4 separate regions of the Homo sapiens genome follow, and regions 2, 3 and 4 are each linked to region 1. Evidence: promoter capture Hi-C in human tissues and cell types (Jung and others, 2019). All regions are on one chromosome and are shown on one strand. The core of a region is centred on a gene start or on the middle of the fragment in contact, and the rest is flanking DNA. Distances in the headings are between cores, read along the strand shown. Region 1 holds the start of TLX1 (T cell leukemia homeobox 1). Region 2 overlaps BTRC (beta-transducin repeat containing E3 ubiquitin protein ligase). Region 3 overlaps BTRC (beta-transducin repeat containing E3 ubiquitin protein ligase). Region 4 has its middle 94 kb from the start of PAX2.

The links. Contacts are between HindIII fragments. The study calls those that stand out against the background at their distance.
Region 2: a fragment that was not itself captured here is called in contact with the fragment with the promoter of TLX1 in region 1 in 2 of the 25 tissues and cell types used here (hippocampus and mesenchymal stem cells).
Region 3: a contact is called between a fragment that was not itself captured here and the fragment with the promoter of TLX1 in region 1, in 3 of the 25 tissues and cell types used here (adrenal gland, lymphoblastoid cells and mesenchymal stem cells).
Region 4: a fragment that was not itself captured here is called in contact with the fragment with the promoter of TLX1 in region 1 in 1 of the 25 tissues and cell types used here (H1 embryonic stem cells).

The regions. Positions count from the first base shown.
Region 1 is chr10:101,130,002-101,133,257 of GRCh38, reverse strand. It overlaps TLX1 (T cell leukemia homeobox 1), which reads right to left and starts at 1,958. Exons shown (of 3, transcript NM_005521.4): 1 at 1,149-1,958. The coding sequence starts at 1,716. TLX1NB (TLX1 neighbor) reads left to right here and starts at 2,112. Exons shown (of 3, transcript NR_130723.1): 1 at 2,112-2,472. The HindIII fragment of the contact is 11,337 bases long and covers 1-3,256 here.
Region 2 is chr10:101,459,087-101,462,594 of GRCh38, reverse strand. BTRC (beta-transducin repeat containing E3 ubiquitin protein ligase) reads right to left here. Exons shown (of 15, transcript NM_033637.4): 3 at 537-614. Among named protein-coding and RNA genes, the nearest start is that of BTRC, 110 kb to the right of the region's middle. The HindIII fragment of the contact is 4,592 bases long and covers 1-3,508 here.
Region 3 is chr10:101,504,102-101,507,338 of GRCh38, reverse strand. The region is part of intron 4 of BTRC (beta-transducin repeat containing E3 ubiquitin protein ligase); the gene reads right to left. Among named protein-coding and RNA genes, the nearest start is that of POLL, 83 kb to the left of the region's middle. RefSeq lists an enhancer at 1-447. The HindIII fragment of the contact is 4,822 bases long and covers 1-3,237 here.
Region 4 is chr10:100,649,686-100,653,235 of GRCh38, reverse strand. No RefSeq gene overlaps it. Among named protein-coding and RNA genes, the nearest start is that of PAX2, 94 kb to the left of the region's middle. The HindIII fragment of the contact is 8,696 bases long and covers 1-3,550 here.

The sequences.
Region 1 (3,256 bases), core at 709-3,208:
GAAGCCAGGGGTGCTTTGGAATCTCCTGGCCCAGTATCTAGCTCTCAGCAGCTTCTCCCAAGTAGTTATGTAAACCCCCCTTCCACTGTTGGGCCCTTGAACCGGGGGACCCCCAGGAGGCCCCATCTCTGCCAGCAGCAGCCAGTGCCTCCTGCCTCCTCTCTCTAAGATCGGCTGGCTAACCTGGGCTCAATTTGTGGCTGCTTCCCAGCCCGGACGGAAGGATCGTGGTCTAGGATCCAGGGAACCCTAAGGGGAGCAGAAAGTGAGAACGGGGGAAGGGATCCACGCCAGAGGGAGAGTTGAGTGCCCAGAGTGGAAACGGGAGCAGAGGGAGCCAGGGCCAGCAGAGGAAGGCGGGAGCGGGCAGCAGAGAAGGCGGCAGCGGCCACCACTTAGTACCCAATGTCCCGGGAGTAGTCTTCCCGCCACCGATCACCAGCCTACCGGTGCATTGTTCGTGCCCAAGATAACAGGGCTGGGCCCGGGGTAGGACACCCAGCCGGGAGAGAACGAAAATGAAAAGCTAGCTGTCCTGGGCGGCTAAGCCCCGCTGCCATCCTCCCAGATGAAGCCTGCTCTCCGGAAAAAAAAAAAAAGGCCACTGGTTCTGCTGATTTACCGGGGCTCAGAGCCCCCACTGGCCCCGCAGCACCACGGGCACCGGAGCTAGGGGCGCGAAGTGCATGTGTGTAGGGGACTGGAGGTGGGGGAACCTGTTCTTTTCTTGTGTCTGATCCTGGGGCTCGCTTCCTGGGTCCTAGAACAGCAGCCAGGACGGAAGAAACTGTTCACGTTGCACCCCTTTCTCTAAGATTCCCAGGCCAAGAGTAGCTGCAGAAGGTGGTCCTGAATCTATGGCCTCCTTCTCTCTGCCTGACCCGGCTAGTGGATCCGGAGAGGGGACCAGGGAGAGCTCCTCCGAGCAGGGGTCCTTCGGGAGACAGAGAGGGGTCCAGGCTGAGAGAACTCTTCAAGCATGGCGAGTCTGCGTTATAGAATCGGGCGGGCGGCTCAACTTGGGGGAAGCACCAAGAAGAGCTGGGCGACCTGGAGCGCAGAACCGGCTTTGGGGAGCCACCCGGCGGGGCAGGGGTAGCACGGAGCCCGGGCCGCGGCCAGGCGGGGAGCGCGCGGGCCGGACTCACCTGTGAACCTGTCCTTTGTGTATCTGCGGTTACTCTCCATCCAGGGGAAGGTGAGGCCAGTGAGGTTGTTGACGCCCGGCATGGCAGGCACAGAGGGCACGGTGGGCAAGCCGGTGGCCAGGGGCTGGGGGTGGGCCACGGCTCCGGCGAGCGGCCTGTGTGCCGGCACCCGGATTACCCCCGCAGCGCTGAGTGCCCCGGCACCGCCGCTGCTGCCGCCGCCGCCGCCAGGACCGGGGCCGCCTGCCAAGGCCATGTTCACGTTGTAGGAGCCGGTCAGAGGACCCATGCTGCAGGCGCCGCCGCCGCCTGCCGGGCCTCCGGGGCCGCCGGGACCTCCAGTACCATAGGCCCCCGCTCCTCCAGCCCCCGTCGCGGCCGCGGAGCCCCCGCCGCCGTAAGTGTAGGCGCCTCCGACCAAGCAGCCAAGGCCGTATTCTCCGTCCTGGAGGCGCGAGGCGGGTCCCATGCAGCCACCCTGGTCCGGGCTGTTGAGGATCTGGTCGATGCCGAAGCTAATGGGCTCTGCGTGACCCGGGTGGAGGTGGTGCGGACCCAGGTGCTCCATGCTGGCCCTGGCCCCACCGGGGGGCCCGGGCGGCGGCGCTCGCTGCGCTCGGCTCGGGGGGCAGCTAGCAGGGGCTGGGAGGCAACAGCGGCTCCTGGCTGCGCGGAGACTTGGAAGCGAAGTGCGCAGAAAGGCTAAAGTAGAAGGGGGAGGGGAGGGAGAGAGGGGGCGCCGTATTCTTCCCCTCTCTGGCTTCTGCTTCCCCGCTCCGGCTGCTCGCTCGCTGTTGACTCTGGGACATCAATCACCAGGCGAAAAAGCCCGGTGCAAGAGAGCTTCGCGGTTTCGACTGGGTCTCTCCATTGGCTGTGCGCGGAGAGGAGCGGGGTGAATGACAGCGCGAGGGAGGGGAGGGGAGGGGGAGAGGAAGGCCAGAAGCCGAGACAGATGCAGGAGCCAGAGATAGAGGGACGGAGACCAAGACTCGGAGTAGTTCATGAAGAGAGAGAAGAGGGGAACAAGGCGAGGCTTAAAAGGAAAAGGGAAAACAGGAAGCGACCATTCCCAGAGACGGACAGACAGACAAACCCAAGGAGGGTGAAGTCAACTGTCTTCCCGGCCTGTTGGGAGCCCTCCCCTCACTTTGAACTGGGCCAAAGGAGTCCAGCCCACAAGGCGTCTGAGGAAGGGATGTCTCTGCCCAACTGGAGAATCTCCTCAAGGGCTCAGCTGCGAAACACCTGTCACTCAACCAGGAGATTTACTCCAAATTTCAAGTCCAGCTTTTTAGAAAGTAGAAGACTGTCTACTCCCCAGGTATGGAGCCCAGGCCCTGAGGCAGGACGGTGAGTTCAGGCTTGCCCTTCTTTAAAACACAGGCCTATGAACAACTGGCTATATGTTATAAAAATCAGCAACCACCCCCCAACTCAGCCTTCTTAGACAAATTCAGGAAGGGAACATATCCTGAAAGGCAGGCACAAGTCAAGAGGGTTGGTTTGGGGTCTGCTGCCAGGGTGCCCATGCCTCAACATACCCCTTTGGTTTTAAATAAACAGATGCGTCAAGAAGTAAAATCCTACAGGGTTCGAAAGAGGCAATTCCTACAGTGTTTGAATGAATTCAACCAGATTGCATTCCACCTAACAATTACCCCAGGGTTGGCTATTCCAGACAAGAAGCCTTTGGACTGTGGTGTGTGTTCTTTTCTTACGTTTGGAATCTTGGGAGGGAGCCATAGGGGCTTAAGGCCGTGGGGGCTGGGATTGGTGGGACTAGGATCAGGGAAGTGCATCCAGGACAAATTTAGGCCTTTCCAACGTTTTGCCAGTGGCTGTCTGGCTGAGAGCCCAAGAGAAAAGGAGGAAACTCCCTTTTTCTTCTTCCTGTCTTTCCCCTCTCCAGTAGAAAATGTTTGCTACCTTTTAGAAGCCAAGCTTTGGGAAAGGCACAGGTTCCATCACTTGGGATCTATTTCTGTTCTATTTCAGTTCAGTTTCAGATTAGACTTTTGGGTAGGCCCTGTCTCTATCTGGAAAGATGCTAGGATGTGAAGACTCACATTCTCTCCCATCAAGTCTTATTGCAATCTATTTGCTTT
Region 2 (3,508 bases), core at 688-3,187, 330 kb before region 1:
TGATTCTCCTGCCTCAGCCTCCTGAGTAGCTGGGATTACAGGCATGCGCCAGCATGCCCAGCAAATTTTTGTATTTTTAGTAGAGACTGGGTTTCTCCATGTTGGTCAGGCTGGTCTCGAACTCCCGACTTCAGGTATTCGCCTGCCTCAGCCTCCCAAAGTGGTGGGATTATAGGCGTTAGCCACCTTGCCCGGCTGCTGTTTTTTTAAGTTATTATTAACAATGGCCTTTTCTTCTAGAAAAAGCAAACAAAATATTGCTCATACTAAAAGGGCTAACTTTATTACAGGCAGATCTGTTTTTATACTTTTTTAAAAATGCCAACCAGCTGTCCTGTACATGTATACCTAGAATGTTTTTTAAATAACTGGGAAAACCATGTCACCTGATTGAAAGTGATGGCTATGGCCAGGCCAACGTCCGAGTACTCTTAATATAAGCTCCAGTGCTTAAAGAATGGCAAATCAAGGGTTTCCTCCTGTCTTTTGTTTTGCTGTTGGTAGCTTTTTATTTTAAGTAAGGCTGAATTTCATACCTGTCTAAGTGAATTCTTCTCTGGTATTATCTTCCTAGGGGGTTCGCCATTATTACAGTCTTCTCTCTCTGAGGAATTCTGTGAAAGAAAGTAAGCTTTAATTCAGTTCTCATTATCTTCAATCTTATCCTTTGGGAGTAAACTGAATTACATTTCTAATTCTGTAAGTTAGAACATACATATATTTATACAATTATTCACTTGAAGATTTGTATACATACAGATATACACATATGTAAAAGAAAACATATGCCCATGTATATAAATAAATTATGTAAGGATTTAGATGGGAAGTATTTCATGTATCTTTAAGCATTGTGTAGGAGATCATATTCATTAGATCTCTAGCTTGCACTTTGACACAGGTTGACACTGGATACAAGAAAGTTCCAGCCCACACTTAGCTGATGACAACTAAAACCATGATTATTACCTTCTCTCGATTATAGTAGATGTTTGGTTGGCACAGATCTCCAAGTCTGGGTCCTAAAAATAGTTATTTCTCTTCCCCCTCTTCTCAGATTTGATTTTATTTTCTTTGATAAAAGTAGCATAGGACTTAAAAAAACATTTACTCAGTAGTTTAGGATTAGAGTCCATTCCTTGGCACTGTCACCTCAAACAGCAGCTAGAGGCCCTAAAATGTCAGTGGGGTTTTTATATACTTAGGAGGGGGAAAAAAACAACAATCCAACTGAAAATGAGTTCATAAGTACTAAAAATCTGCTAGTCAATATATGTAAATCACTATCTACAAGGCAAAATACAGAAAATCCAAATTACATATTATTTGAGTTCCATTTTCAGCAACAACATTAGTAACATTAATAACATTAATATTTAAAACCCTGCAGTTGTGCTAGGTGCGGTGGCTCACACTTGTAATCCCAGCACTTTGGGAGGCCAAGGCGGGCAGATCATCTGAGGTCAGGAGTTTGAGACCAGCCTGGCCAACATGCTGAAACTGTGTCTCTACTAAAAATACAAAATTAGCCAAGTGTGGTGGTGGGTGCCTGTAATCCCAGCTACTCGAGAGTCTGAGGCAGGAGAATCGCCTGAACCCAGGAGGCCGAGGTTGCAGTGAGCCGAGATCACACCACTGCACTCCAGCCTGAGTGACAGAGCAAGGTTCCGTCTCAAAACAACAACAACAAAAAACTTACAGTTAATATATTCCTTACATTACATATAGTCATAACGTTCTAACAGGAGGGTTAGTTTATTTGTAGGTTCAGAAATTATTTTTAACATGAGAGTTTATCTGAAAATTTTCATACAAGCATGAAATTATTAATATACAATCATTACTGTGTTCTAAACCTACATGTAAATTTCACTTTTTTGGTTTCTATTAGATATTACATTTTGAAAGATACTGAGAGATAAAAAACGTACTGTGTCATTCTGAGGCCCTTTCACCTCTGTGGCTGACACCTGTGTGTCACCTTTAGTAAGCCTGACAGGCCAGTACCCTAATGTGTTTCTTTTGGGCAGAAATATCTTATGAGGTTTAACTTGATATTTTACATTTGTGATGATCCCTTGTAAAAGTCCCTAAAATTAAAGAAAAAGCATGCTATATTACAAAGAAAGGGACAGAGACTCAAGAACTTCAGAGTTCTAACTTCTTTTCCTCCCTGTTTGGAAAAAAAGGAATGGAGATCATCTACCAAAAAATGGAGGAAGGATATAATTGAATTAATGACTACAAAGCTTGACAAATGAGGCGACTGGCAATACATGCTATGTAAGAGTATCAAACAAAGAAAGGGAAAGGTCAACATTTATTTACCCCATAACATCAAGTTGTATGTTTAACTTTTTTTTTTTAAATGTAAAGATCAATGTTTTAAATACCAAAATTAAATGCCTTATATAATAGAAGCTTAAGCCAGTATCCAATTATAAACTTAGAATTTGCAAGTAACTCTCTTTCAGGTCATGAAATTCCTCCTTTAAATAAATAAATAAAAAGATCAGATAAACTAAACCTGTTTAATTCAGTGTAAGATCCTGTATTTCAAAATTAATTATGTTTTTTGAAATGTTATCATATAACTTGGAGCCTAATTACTTTTTGCTGGAAGTTTGTCATACCAAAGATACTATAAATCACATTTTTATTATACAGGTACTTGGGCTGATACACAATTGCTGGCAAACTCCTCTATACTGAATTATAAAGTGAAAAATAGTCATCTCAACCTTAACAGCCTGAGTATTGACTAGCCCATACTCACAATTTTCTTTTTACTGACCCTCTATTTTATCAGATTTAGATGGATAACCACTGGGTGGGTATTATGAAAATGTCTAAAGAATGAAAACACAAAGGGAGCTTAAAGGGTGTTACTAACCTAACATAGAACACAGAGCTTCTTAGGAGTTCCTTTCCCCTTTCTATCCCACTAGGGCAAAGAATATTTAAATGGTATTGTTAAAAATAACTCTTAAACAAAAAATGGGGGAAACCCATAAACATTGGTATGTTCTTTTAATACAGATTAACCCAACACTTTTACTCTGGGCCATCCATCATGAGAAATCAAATCAAACAAAAAATCCAACTTATAATGTTGTTACAAAAAAATAGAGGTAGGGACATTAAACAGTCATGATATCAGGAACAAGGATTAGGAACCCTCCTAATACTAAAGAGTAGAAGCAGAATGCCAGTGAATGAGATTACTAGGTCTACAGTCTTGAGGGTAAGGGGTAATGATGAAATAGCCATGTATACCTAAGTAGTCACCTCAACAGTTCTCAAAGCCTGTCCAACATCACCCAGGAAAGCTCAGCAACACAGTTATTCCTTGCATCTTTATCTATGAGGATTCCCAATAAGCTATGTGCATAATTTTCCTAGATCATCAGGCTAAATTATATCCAATAAATTCTATTTAAGGATAAGTGATTAATATAAGGAAGAATCATCATTGGGTGCTAAAATTAGCAAGTGAGCCTAGTACTTT
Region 3 (3,237 bases), core at 328-2,827, 370 kb before region 1:
GGAGAAACTCTGACAGTAAAAACCTGCCAGAAATGAGCGCTGTGTTTATGTTTCTTTGCAGGCAGCAAAAAATCAACCGACAGCTTATTACTGGTTGCGTGTTACTTATATTTAAAAGACTCCAGGCAGTTAACTTTCTACGTACTGTTAAAACTTTGCTCACAAGATGGGAAAAAATGGGAAAAAAGCCCCAGTGATACAGACTTGGGGAAGTAAGAGAAGAAAAAACAGGGAGAAGGGCAATGCAAGGAAACAAGTACATTGTATAAAATCTTTTAAAATGTCGTGGTTATCTTATTAAATGTTCAGTCAGCATATATAGGCATAAAATCCTTCAAAAAATAATTCTGGATTCCTAAGACATGGTATGAACTATATCTAGGAGCAAAGCAAGAGAATTTTGCTCACTCAAATTTTTTCAGAGACCCTGAGTCCATGCCTGAAGAATTCAATTAACTGCAGAATTCCTAGATCTCTTTTCAAAAACCCCTGCAGCTAGAAAAGCATTCACTAACTACATAATTTAACCCTTTGTGAAACAATGAGTACACTATAGCTAGGAAATAAGTAAACTTCAGTTGTTTAGAGCACTTCATCTAGCCTTGCCATCCACCTTGCATACCTAGGGTTAGTCAACTGAGATTGAAATAGTCTGCTGAAAGATTTCCTTTCAGTCAATTTTGAATCTGAGCTTGGAATTTTAACATTTAACTATGGCAGAGTTGGCATCTTGGCTTGGTACAGCATGACTGTTACACTTTTTATAACCAACACTACCAAGGACAATAAACAAGGTATATAATAGAACTGCTGCTCATCAATGCCTGTCCTCCCCACCCCCAAGACTGATAACAGGGCTGAAAACAAATCTGTATAAAAATTGCCAAGTCTATCAGACTGAACACTCTAATATTGAAATATTACAAAAAAACATGAGCTAAATTTTGGGAGGACAGAGAAAGGCAGGAAAGGTCTTATAGGACTTAGAGTTGAAGCCTAACTTGAGCAACTGTATTTAACATTCACCATGTGCTACAATAGTGCCAATGAGCTGATGGCTTCATGCTTCAGTTCAAAGGGCCACCCATTTTGAAAGGTAAAAAAATTTGGAAAACTAGCCAGGCGCGAAAACTACAGGTGGCTCACGCCTGTAACCCCAGCACTTTGGGAGGCTGAGGCGGCGGATCACCTGAGGTTGGGAGTTCGAGATCAGCCTGACCAACATGGTGAAACCCCGTCTCTACTAAAAATAGAAAAATTAGCAGTGCATGGTGGCCGGCACCGGTAGTCCCAGCTAATGGGAGGCTGAGGCAGGAGAATTGCTTGAATCCTGGAGGCGGAGGTTGCAGTGAGCTGAGATTGTGCCACTGCACTCCAGCCTGGGCGACACAGCGAGACTCCGTCTCAAAAAAAAAAAAAAATTGGAAAACTGAACATCAAAATAGCAAACCAAATTCATCTTCAAAAAGGATCAAATCTGAGTCATTTTGTTTTCACTTTGATTAAATAAAGATCTATGGGGGGGGTCAAGCAAAGAATGTTTAATTCATTTTCTAAAAATAGCATTTACAGTAGACACATTTTAGTAAATATGAAAAATTCAGATACACAAAAAACATGGAAATTGCCCATAATTTCAACTATCAACAAAGACATAATGTTCACATTTTGGTGGGTATATTTGTTTTTTTATTATTATTTTTTTTTTTTTATTTTTTTGAGACGGAGTCTCGCTCTGTCGCCCAGGTTGGAGTGCAGTGGCACAATCTCTGCTCACTGCAAGCTCCACCTCCTAGGTTCACGCCATTCTCCTGCCTCAGCTTCCTGAGCAGCTGGGACTACAGGCGCCTGCCACCACGCCCGGCTAATTTTTTTGAATTTTTAGTAGAGACGGGGTTTCACCGTGTTAACCAGGATGGTCTTGATCTCCTGACCTCATGATCCGCCCGCCTCGGCCTCCCAGAGTGCTGGGATTACAGGCGTAAGCCACCGCGCCCGGCCATCTTTCTGTTTATTTAAAAATGTATTAGTCAACGGCCAGGCATGGTGGCTCATGCCTGTAATCCCAGCACTTTGGGAGGCTGAGGCAGGCGGATCACTTAAGGTCAAGAGTCTTAGACCAGCCTGGCCAACATGGTGAAACCTCGTGTCTACTAAAAAATATATATATATATATATATACATATACATATATATATACATATATATACACATATATATATATAAATATATACTCAGGTGCAGTGGTGCACGCCTGTAATCCCAGCTACTTGGGAGGCTGAGGCAGGAGGATTGCTTGAACACGGGAGGCAGAAGTTGCAGTGAGCTGAGATTGTACCACTGCACTCCAGCCTGGGTGACAGAGTAAGACTTCATCTCAAAAAGAAAACAAAATTTTTTTAAAATTTATTAGTCAAATATTTGAAGAATATGGGGGAGGGGGAGTGTATCTGTGCCATCTAGAGAATTCTTTGTTCATAATATCAAATTGATCAGAGCAAGCAAAATTAATCTTTGCTGTTAGAGAAGTCAAGATCTGATCCTGGAGGACAGAGAATTATAGGTTATTGTGATGAGGGGAGCTGAAAGGAGGGGAGGAAAGAGGAGAAAAGAAAGAGAGTCAAAGGGAGAGAAAGTGAGGAGAGAAAGAAAAGGGAAATGGAAGGGGGAAAATGGGAAAGCAGAAGGAGGAACGCAAGGAGAGGAAGGGCTAGGGCTAGAGAAGAGGGTAGAAGAGGAAGAGGAATGACAAAAGTGACCGAGGATTGGGGAAAGGACAGTGGATACTAGGCAGTGGGGTTGGTGAGAGATGGGATAAGGATGAAGGAAGAGGGATAAGCAGGTCTAGGGGAAAGATAGGGATGGGGAGAGATGATGAGCTGGGGAAGAGATGGAGGGAGATGGCTACAGGAGAGATGAAGTGAGAAATAGGTGGGAAGGGGGAGAATGAATATAACCAAATGCAAAAGGGACCCAGCATTACCAAGCTCACCTGCTCTAAGAGGAGCAATATGCTTGTTGGACAAACATCCTCTCCCACACAATAAACATCAAGAGGGAGAGGAGATAAAAAACTATTTTTTAAAACCACTACTTAATGTTTCAGGCGGAGTAATAAAGTTTAATTGTCTGGAATCTGGTTGTTCTTTCTGTGTAACTTCCTCAGGTGGAGGTTGTTCACCTAGATGTCAAATTATGTTAAGATTACCAGAATAAAATTTCTGTGATGCTGAAAGT
Region 4 (3,550 bases), core at 863-3,362, 480 kb after region 1:
GAAGATAAAGACAGGAGCCATGGAGAACTGGGGCTGGGGTTTAATTCTGCTGGGTTGGGCGAGGGAGAGGGGCTCCAAACAGGAGCCTCCCCCAACCCCCGCCCCCCGGGCACATGTGTCCAAATCCACCCTAACTCTCCACATGCTCTGCAGTCCGCCACTAGCTGGTCCACAAAGCCTTTGCGAACTGCTCCTTCCCCTCACTCAGGGGTACTCAAAGCCTGGTGCCCAAAGAGAATGGAGCCCAGCAGGTCTGGTCTGCAGCAGGTAAAGAGAAGGGACAAGAAATTCCTGTTGCAGAGGCAGAGAAATCATGCTCCAGGAGTCACTGTGCTGCCGGTAGTCATGGTGAGGTCCAGCATGAAAGCCTTAGAGAAAATGGCATTAAATCTGGCTTGATGGGCTTTAAGACCCCAACCCGCAGAAAATGGGATGGGGTAAGGCTAATGGTGGCATCTGAGGTAGAAGAAAGAGCATGGACAAAAGAGGGAGAGAACCAGCTCATGTTCCTATTTGCTTGGGTGGGGCTCAGGAGGGATATGGAGGGGCTGGGGGAGGCATCATTGAGAACCAAGGACAGAAAAGCAGGTTGAGGGGGAAGGGAACTTCCTATTGTGAAGGGCTTGTTCTGTCTGATAGCAGAAGGAATACAGGCTTTATTGTTTGAGGAGTGGGGAACCATAGATGGTTTCTGAACTATGGGAGAAGAAGTTACAGTTGTGGTTTGGGCTGATTACACTGATAGAAGAATGCAGGAGGAAAAAGGATAAGTGGGGGGTCACGACAAGGATGACACTTTGCCGGTGTGCCTGGATGTCCCACCTCCTGGAGGACATCAAAGAGGTGTGACAGAAGAAGCCCTCTCCAAGGAGGCCTCCCACTCTTCATCACTTCGACTCCTGGGTTCCTTTACCTCAGGATTTCAGCTCTGAATGATTCTCTCCTCCAGACCTTCAGCAAACAACTGGAACCTCTGCTAGCCACCCCATGTTTCCTGCAGTGACGTGTTAAGAGGGTAGTGGGCTTCAGACCTGTGGATATGTGGGTGAGGGCATTATTGTAGCGATGTGACTTATTGGTTCTGTCCTTTCCAGCTGAGTGGTCAACTGGAAGAAGGTGGGGAGTAGAAGGTGGTGAGACTGGTGAAGGTGGTGGGAGTGGCAGAGGTGGCGGGATTGGTGGAGGTGGCGGGAGTGGCAGAGGTGGTGGAGGTGGCGGGGGTGGTTGGAGTGGGGAAGGTGGTGGGAATAGTGGAGGTGGTGGGGGTGGTGGGAGTGGGGAAGGTGGTGGGAATCGTGGAGGTGGTGGGGGTGGTGGGAGTGGGGAAGGTGGTGGGAATCGTGGAGGTGGTGGGGGTGGTGGGAGTGGGGAAGGTGGTGGGAATCGTGGAGGTGGTGGGGGTGGTGGGAGTGGGGAAGGTGGTGGGAATCGTGGAGGTGGTGGGGGTGGTGGGAGTGGGGAAGGTGGTGGGAATCGTGGAGGTGGTGGGGGTGGTGGGAGTGGGGAAGGTGGTGGGAATCGTGGAGGTGGTGGGGGTGGTGGGAGTGGGGAAGGTGGTGGGAATCGTGGAGGTGGTGGTGGGGGTGGTGGAGGTGGTGGGACTAGCGGAGGTGGTGGGAGTGGTGGAGGTTGCGGGATTGGTCAAGGTGGTGGGAGTGGTGGAGGTGGTGGGAATGGTGGAGGTGGTGGGAGTGGGGAAGGTGGTGGGAGTGGTGGAGGTGGTGGGAGTGGTGGAGGTGGTGGGAGTGGGGAAGGTGGTGGGAATAGTGGAGGTGGTGGGAGTGGTGGAGGTGGTGGGAATAGTGGAGGTGGTGGGAGTGGGGAAGGTGGTGGGAATAGTGGAGGTGGTGGGAGTGGGGAAGGTGGTGGGAATAGTGGAGGTGGCGGGAGTGGGGAAGATGGTGGGAGTGGGGGTGGTGGTGGGGGTGGTGGAGGTGGTGGGACTAGTGGAGGTGGTGGGAGTGGTGCAGGTTGCGGGATTGGTCGAGGTGGTGGGAATGGTGGAGGTGGTGGGACTGGTGGAGGTGGTGGGAGTGGGGAAGGTGGTGGGAGTGGTGAAGGTGGTGGGAGTGGTGGAGGTGGTGGGAGTGGTGGAGGTGGTGGGAATGGTGGAGGTGGTGGGAATGGTGGAGGTGGTGGGACTGGTGGAGGTGGTGGGAGTGGGGAAGGTGGTGGGAGTGGTGGAGGTGGTGGGAGTGGTGGAGGTGGTGGGAGTGGTGAAGGTGGTGGGAATAGTGGAGGTGGTGGGAGTGGTGGAGGTTGCGGGATTGGTCGAGGTGGTGGGAGTGGTGAAGGTTATGGGCGTGGTCAGTGTGGTGGGATTGGTCAAGGTAGTAGGAGTGGTGAAGGTGGTGAGCACCGAATGCTCATTACTTTTCCAATTAATCCAAATAAGAGCAGTCTGCAGTTATGTTCTGGGCTCCTTGCCAAAGCGACCCTCACATCGTGGCCATTTGGCACTAGGAGAGGGTGCAACTTTGAGGGTGTGGAGCCTTGAAGGGGTCTCCTGCCTGCCCATTTGGGAGTACGTTTGTTCAAACTCATACAGGGCGTTGGAGTGTCAGCTGGCTGGTCAGCCACCTGGCTGGTCCTCACAGGGTCAGAGGGCACACTCAGGGAAGGAGTAGAAGGAAATGATTCCTCCAACCCTGCAGTGCCAGTGCCATCAGCTGTAGGTATATTAAGAGGGGTGCCATGCGCCCCTCAGGAAGGAATGGGTCTTTGCAATAGAGCTAAGTACTCTACGCCAGGCAACCTGAGAAGGTACACAAACACCCGCAATCTCCCCTTCTCCTCTCTGTCTTTACCCATATCGTCTATGTGACTATCCACCTTAGACATGTACAACACGCCCAACACATACAGCCAGACATGTAGACAATTCCACATGTATGCATAGGCAGGGCCTCCTAAGCAAATCCACAATAGCCATTTGTGTTTGCCATTACAATGTGTCTGTATGAATCATTGCTTGAATGATCACAGAGTACGATTATATATCACAATATCACGAGTACACAACTTCACAAGTACACGCAGGAACATGAATATAAATGTATATAGGGATTCATTTACACATACATGAACATATACCTCATGCCCTGTTCATGTACCCCAGGGGTTCTTTTTAAAAAGAGAGGAACATAATGGGGCAAGTGGGGGTGGGGAATATGGTGGGGGGAGCATTTGAAATTGCAAGAACGACAGAAAAGTAATGAGCTGAAAAACCCAGGCCCAGCTCCTGCCTGCCCCCCACCCCTCAGTAGGCCCTCCGTGAAGGGCCCAGTGCCACGGTCCCCTCACCTCCCTTAGAGCCCGAGTTTTAATTTGGGCGGCGTAATTTTTGTGCGAACGGTTGGGCGCCTTTCGTTGGGAAATTGGGAGGAATGCAAACAAGATTTCACTTCATTAAACAGGGGCAAACAGTAGAGAAATTGCACTTACTTATGGAAATGACTTTTAAACATGCACAGCATTTACTGGCACTGCCCGCGCTGAAATTCTTCGAGGATTATACATGTGAATAATTCACCGCGGGCCAATTAGAACC